2 separate regions of the Homo sapiens genome follow, and region 1 is linked to region 2. Evidence: promoter capture Hi-C in 16 types of primary human blood cells and fetal thymus (Javierre and others, 2016). All regions are on one chromosome and are shown on one strand. The core of a region is centred on a gene start or on the middle of the fragment in contact, and the rest is flanking DNA. Distances in the headings are between cores, read along the strand shown. Region 1 holds the start of PER1 (period circadian regulator 1). Region 2 holds the start of NEURL4 (neuralized E3 ubiquitin protein ligase 4).

Region 1 (3,117 bases), core at 313-2,812, 820 kb before region 2:
AACCTATCCTTGTTTAAAAAAAAAAAAATCATGTTTATCGATCACTTGCCATGTGTCAGGTCCTGTCCTGGGCTCTGGAGACTACAGTGAATGAGACAGATGACGTTCCGTCTGGGCCCCTGGAGTTTGGCTTTCTCTTTTCCAAGCAGTGGAAATATGAAGCCCTTGCCACCCCACATTTCTCTGTCTAGGGCCCCAGCTGGCCTCTTCTCTGGGCCATCCCCTTGGTCCCTCTGTAGTCCTGGCTTCCTGGCCCCCACTTTTGGGGCAGCTTTAACTGTGGGTGGCTGCGTCCTCTGGAGGAAAGTACTAGACACCACGTAGGCTGCCCGGAGACCTTGTCTCTGAGTGGCCATAGAAGCACCTGCCATTGTTTCCCTTCACAGCCACTATTGGCTCTGGTTGCCCCTTCCATTGTCCGCATCCTTCCTCCACCCACTCACCCACCGGTCACACGTGGACCCTTAACTGTCCTCTCCCAGGATTTGAAGTGTCAGAGGAAGTGCTTCGGTTAAAGGGCTTCATTATGTAGAACGAAGGTTGGGAGGGAACAAGGTTGGGAAAGGAACCCAGGAGAGGCCCAGGCAGGTTTCTGTCTCTCCCCTCCTCTCAAGGACCACCCATCTCATCCAGCGTGGCCTAACTTGCAGCGCCATTCCTTTTCCTCACCCTTGGAAAGGCGAAGATGCCAAGATGTTGTGTTCTGCAAGGCTAGTGCGTTCAGGAAGTAGACAAGTCTTGAGCACCTACCCCGGGCCGGGCTTTTTCCCTAAAGAGGCGCAGCGTATCTCCCTCTCTCCTCCCTTCCATTATTCAATGTGCAAGCGTCCTGCGCCCATTGGCTGGGCGGTGTCTGGGGCTCTTCAGCCCAGCACCAGCACCCAGGTCCACGTGCGCCCGTGTGTGTGACACAGCCCTGACCTTAGTGGAGACCACTAGCCAATCAGGCGCCGGGAAGAGATCCCCAGCCAATCGGGGGCGGGGCCTGCGGCTCCGTCGGCAAGAGGCCAATGAGGGGGCAGTGCCCGGCATTATGCAACCCGCCTCCCCGCCCGCCCGGTGGAGCTTCCACTCGGCTGCGGGCTGGAGCGGCGGCGGGCAGGCGTGCGGAGGACACTCCTGCGACCAGGTAGGCATCTCTGCGGCCATCCTGGGGCCGATCTCCGTCCCTGAGCCGGACCGCTGCCACTTCCAATCTGATGGGCTACTTTCGGCCCAGGCAGAGGGCACACTGTCGTCCTTACCGCTACCCACCCTCTCCCTGCCCCCAAGGACCGAAGTCCTCCTCGAAATCTTGCACCGGGAGTCTGCACTCCTGACCCACTCATCTTACCTCCAGCTTGTCCCCACCTCCCCGTCCCAGCTTTCCCGGCCCCACAGCCGACTCTCAGCGGGCATGCCCCGGTCTTCTTGCTCGTTACTCGAGGGGCCCCAGGTTTGCCCCGGTACCAGGACCCTATTAGGCTTTCAGCGCTCCCCGTGTCTCTGTTCTCCAGTCCCTGGCCCTGCGCCGCCTGTGATGTCAGCCCACTTCGGACTAGAACATCCCGTTCCCAGCGCTGGTTCCTGCTGTTGGCCACAACCTTCCCTTTTCCCCTGGCGCTCAGAAAATGCTCAGTAGTAGGGGTGTGGTTGGACGGGGAGTAGGGGAAGAAAGATCTGTTGGCTGTTGTGTGTCTTCTGCCCAAGGCTTGGGGTTGGTGGGGGGGTCTGGCCAGAAAAGTAGGGGACTGAAGAGAGAGGATCCTCGGGTCCTTGACGATGGCAGGTTGCCGGCTTCGGTCCTTGTGGTGGGGAAGCAGCGCAGGGGCTAAAGAAGGAAAGGTTGTGTTGTCTTGACCAGAATGACTGGGATCCAGGCGAGAGTCAGGTTGAGGGGCTTTTGCGCCGAGGGCAGTGGCCGTTGTGCTTCGTCCTGGGGAAGCCAGGACCAACCCTGGGATCCTAATAGGCCGTCCCACTTCTTACGGCCACCGAGCCATCCTGGGACTGGGGATATGTAAGGGATGCGTGACCCCCCCGGCCGCGCCCACCAGTGTGAGAGTGGGCCGTTCCCCCACTTCCGCCGGGAAATGGGGGAGGGGTCGCTCCTCCCGCCCTCCTGTGGTCCCTCCAGCAACCGCTGAGCTCAGCAGCTGACGTCGGTTTCCCTGGCGACCGTGGCGGCGGCGGAAGCGCGTGGTGGGGCCGCGCACGTCGGCGCGCATGTGCAGCGGGGGTGGCACCGCCCCCGGATAAAATTAGCCTGGAGGCCTAAATATAGGAGGCGACCAGCTCACCTCCTGCTCCGAGGCCTTGGAGGCCCAGGCAGAGTGGACACCTAATGGGAACTTGGGAATGGGAAGTGTCCAGGTTTTTGTCTACAGCCGTGGTTCTCATTGACTGCTCAGGCCATGGTGGCAGGGGATGTGAAGGAAGGCCCCGGAGAACCTTCTCCCGCTGGCAGTCCCCCTAAGGGTACAGGAGACATCCTGACTCCCCATTGGAAGCCCCAGGCCTGGGTTCCACTCCCATCAGTCCTGCAGGAGGCCAGGCAGGGGGAAGGTCTGAGTGAAGCCAGCAGGTGCTCTGGAGTTAAACCAGCTTTCTGCAAGCCCTGCTTCCTGGTCTCCCTCTCCAGGTACTGGCTGTGATCGAACTTCTCAACCCTCAGAGACTTAGATCTTCCACCTCACTCCCTCAGCCAAGCCTCCAGGCCCCCTCGTGCATCCGTGGTGGCCTCTCTGCCTTCTCTGTTCTGTTCTCCCCATGGCCCAGACATGAGTGGCCCCCTAGAAGGGGCTGATGGGGGAGGGGACCCCAGGCCTGGGGAATCATTTTGTCCTGGGGGCGTCCCATCCCCTGGGCCCCCACAGCACCGGCCTTGCCCAGGCCCCAGCCTGGCCGATGACACCGATGCCAACAGCAATGGTTCAAGTGGCAATGAGTCCAACGGGCATGAGTCTAGAGGCGCATCTCAGCGGAGCTCACACAGCTCCTCCTCAGGCAACGGCAAGGACTCAGCCCTGCTGGAGACCACTGAGAGCAGCAAGAGGTGTGTATGGATGTGTATGTTGGGTCTAGGAATGGTCTTGTGAGCAGGCAGAGCTGGGTGACAGGCCTCGCACTGCTGGCCCT
Region 2 (2,923 bases), core at 374-2,873:
TACTTCTCCACATTGGGGGATTTCTGCATCAAGTTGGAGCTGTTCTTTCGTAGGATGCTCCGGGGCCGGTCCTGTTGGGAGTTTTGGGGGTTCAAGCAAGTTGGCCCAGAGTGCGGACTGCACCCGGGGCTGTTTACCTCTTGCCCTGCAGGTCCCCCAGGCCCGGGGCTGGAAGCCCTGGATACACTGGTTCGAGGCCCGGGGATGTTGAATCCACCAGGGTTCCTGCCAGACCCAAGGCTGTGGTTCGCAGCCTCCCTTGGGTGCTGACTGGGCCCGGAACCAAGGACCACTATCCCCCCGGAGGGACAGCTTGAACCAGTACTATGAGTTACGGAGCCCCCTGAGTGCACGTGGGGCCCAGAACCGTGAAACAAGACTACTCTGGAGGGCTGCCCAGCGCCTGCCTCGACTCCTGTGACCGCTGCGGGCACTCCTCTGGCTGCCCCTCCAGGGGAATCCCGGTTGAGGCCGCCAGCAGCCCCTAGGGACTCCACCTTCTCCATGGCCCCACTGGGGGGCTGCTCTCAGCGATCCTGACCCGCCTCCCGGCTCCACGTAGCCCCGCCCCTGGCCCCGCCCCCACCGCTGCCGGCCGGGGATGCTCGGGCTCAGTCCCGGGTCCACTTCTCCCCTGCTCCAGAGCTGCGGCGGGCGGAATCAAGACTATATAGAGACTCGGGCTGGGGGTCCCTCCGCTCGCCCCTTTCCTTTGTGTCCCACCCAAAGATTTTCTTTGTCTGGGCAATTTGTTCCCGCCCTTCTCCATCACCACCCTCATCCAAACCAGCCAATCCCAGTCAGGGGGCCAGGCCAGGAGCTTCGACTGTGACCTCACGGTCCTCCAGCCTGAGCTTGAGCTTCGGGGAGTTGGGCAGGGGGCTTGTTAATAGCTCTAAGGGAGATCTTTTGGGGTCATCAACGCTGTCGCTTGAAACGGCCTGTCGGGACTTCTTTAGACTCTTTGTGGTCTTAACATGGAATAGTTTGGTTGAGTTGGAGTTGAAGCTGGGCTTGACTTGAACTATCAGCGAGCTTCCCCCACCCCCGCCAGTCGGCTAGCTCAGCCAATCAGAAGAGGTGTGAGGCAAAGTGGAAGGACTGCCGCACTGTTGCAAGACACTTCGTCCTCAGTCGGGTGGCGGGAAGAGACTTTCACTACCGCTTCTCTGGGTCCTCCAGACTCGGCTCACGCTGCTTTGGAGCCTGCATCCCGAGGGGAGACACCCCCTCTTGCCGTAAAGCGAGTGCTTCAAGGTGTCACCGCCCCCTAGCGAGGGCGGGGTCGTCGGTGCCGCTGTCGCAAAGCAGAAAGTGTTTGGGCTCCAGCACCCCACCGTCGTAAAGATGCCTGCGGTGGGCGTGTCTTTCTCCCACTGTCGCAAAAGCTCCCTGCCCAGGTCTTCGTCCCCCTCGGAGCCGCTCCGTCACCTCGCTATGCCGTAAAGCGAGGCTCCCGACCCCGTGTCCTTCTGTTCTCATCGTGGTCGTCCCCAGCTCCTAGCGCGGGCTGCTTCATTGCCCGGCAGTGCCGTAAAGCATACCTGGCCTCAGCCCCCCGGTCGTATCCCTCGGACTGTCTGCCCGACGCGGTTGCCACGGTGCCGCCAAGCGCGGCTGTCGCGCTGCCCCGGTGTCAGCGGAGATGGCGGCAGGGTCGGGTGGGAGTGGGGGCTCTGGGGGAGGCCCTGGACCGGGGCCGGGCGGGGGTGGGGGCCCCAGCGGGAGCGGCTCAGGACCGGGGTCCAACGGGGGTCTGGGCAGCGGCGGGGAACTGCACCCGCGCACTGGGCGCTTGGTGAGCCTGTCGGCCTGTGGGCGTACGGCGCGGCGGCAGCAGCCGGGCCAGGAGTTTAACCACGGGCTGGTGTTGAGCCGAGAACCCTTGCGCGATGGACGCGTCTTCACCGTCCGCATCGACCGCAAGGTGCAGCGCTGGTACCGCGGAACAGAGATGTGGAGGGTGGTGGGAGGCGTCTAGAGGGAGACGGGGTAGGACAGCCAGGGTAGCCCACATTGCCGGGCACCGAGAGGGAACAGAAAGACCATAGAGCACCAGGGGGCGGTCAGGAAGACAGCATGAAGCAGAAACATTGAGTTTGAAGATGACATTAAGAGCTTGAGTTTTCTCAAGATCCAGAACCAGGGAAGGGACACGAGGGCTAACCCACTAGAATGGCTGGGAACAGACCTCCTGGTACAATTTCTTGGGCATGGAGGATGGAGAGATGTCAGAGATGTGATGGCAAGTGAAGAAAGATGCCAAGGAACGAACAAACGTAATCCCAGCACTTTGGGAGTCCGAGGCGGGCGGATCACTAGAGTCAGGGGTTTGAGACCAGCCTGGTGAACGTGGTGAAACCCCGTCTTTACTAAAAATACAAAAATTGGCCAGGCATGGTGGCGTGCGCCTGTAATCCCAGCTACTCTGGAGGCTGAGGCAGGAGAATGGCTTGAACCCGGGAGGCAGAGGTTGCAGTGAGCTGAGATCATGCCATTGCACTCCAGCCTGGGCAATAGAGTGAGTGAGACTCCGTCTCAAAAAAACAGAACAAACCATTGAAGGACAGAGGCTGTGCCAGAAAGATAGGTGAGGAGAAAGATCCAGGGTGAGGGAGGTGTGTGTGATTCAGTGAAGAGGCCAGGCTCACAGAAAAAGAACTTGGAAGGAGATTGAATCTGGGTAGAGCCTGATCTTTGGAGAGAATTAGGCCAGGGGAAAGGAATGAATGATACACAAGAGCAAGAGGTGTGGGTATAGGAAGTAGGAGAATTTGGATGGTTGGAGAGCCATAGAGACAAGGAAAGTTAGAGGAGGCAGGAGGTTGGAACCAAGGAATTTGTGCTTGGCTTGGAAAGGAGTGGTTTAGTAAACACTGAGTAGAGAGCAGAGTTGCTAAAGGAAAGCCCAAATAATTACCAA

The links. The method cuts DNA at HindIII sites, captures the fragments that hold promoters and counts their contacts. A CHiCAGO score of 5 or more calls a contact.
Region 1: a contact is called between a fragment that was not itself captured here and the fragment with the promoter of NEURL4 in region 2, in 1 of 17 cell types (activated CD4 T cells). The highest score is 5.3, in activated CD4 T cells.

The regions. Positions count from the first base shown.
Region 1 is chr17:8,150,349-8,153,465 of GRCh38, reverse strand. PER1 (period circadian regulator 1) reads left to right here and starts at 1,062. Exons shown (of 23, transcript NM_002616.3): 1 at 1,062-1,129; 2 at 2,621-3,034. The coding sequence starts at 2,760. RefSeq lists enhancers at 821-1,115, 2,329-2,438, 2,908-3,117 and a silencer at 2,069-2,168. The HindIII fragment of the contact is 3,689 bases long and covers 1-3,117 here.
Region 2 is chr17:7,328,035-7,330,957 of GRCh38, reverse strand. NEURL4 (neuralized E3 ubiquitin protein ligase 4) reads left to right here and starts at 1,623. Exons shown (of 29, transcript NM_032442.3): 1 at 1,623-1,927. The coding sequence starts at 1,646. RefSeq lists enhancers at 189-338, 1,219-1,268, 1,299-1,478, 1,414-1,708, 1,691-2,350 and a silencer at 1,679-1,918. The HindIII fragment of the contact is 8,367 bases long and covers 1-2,923 here.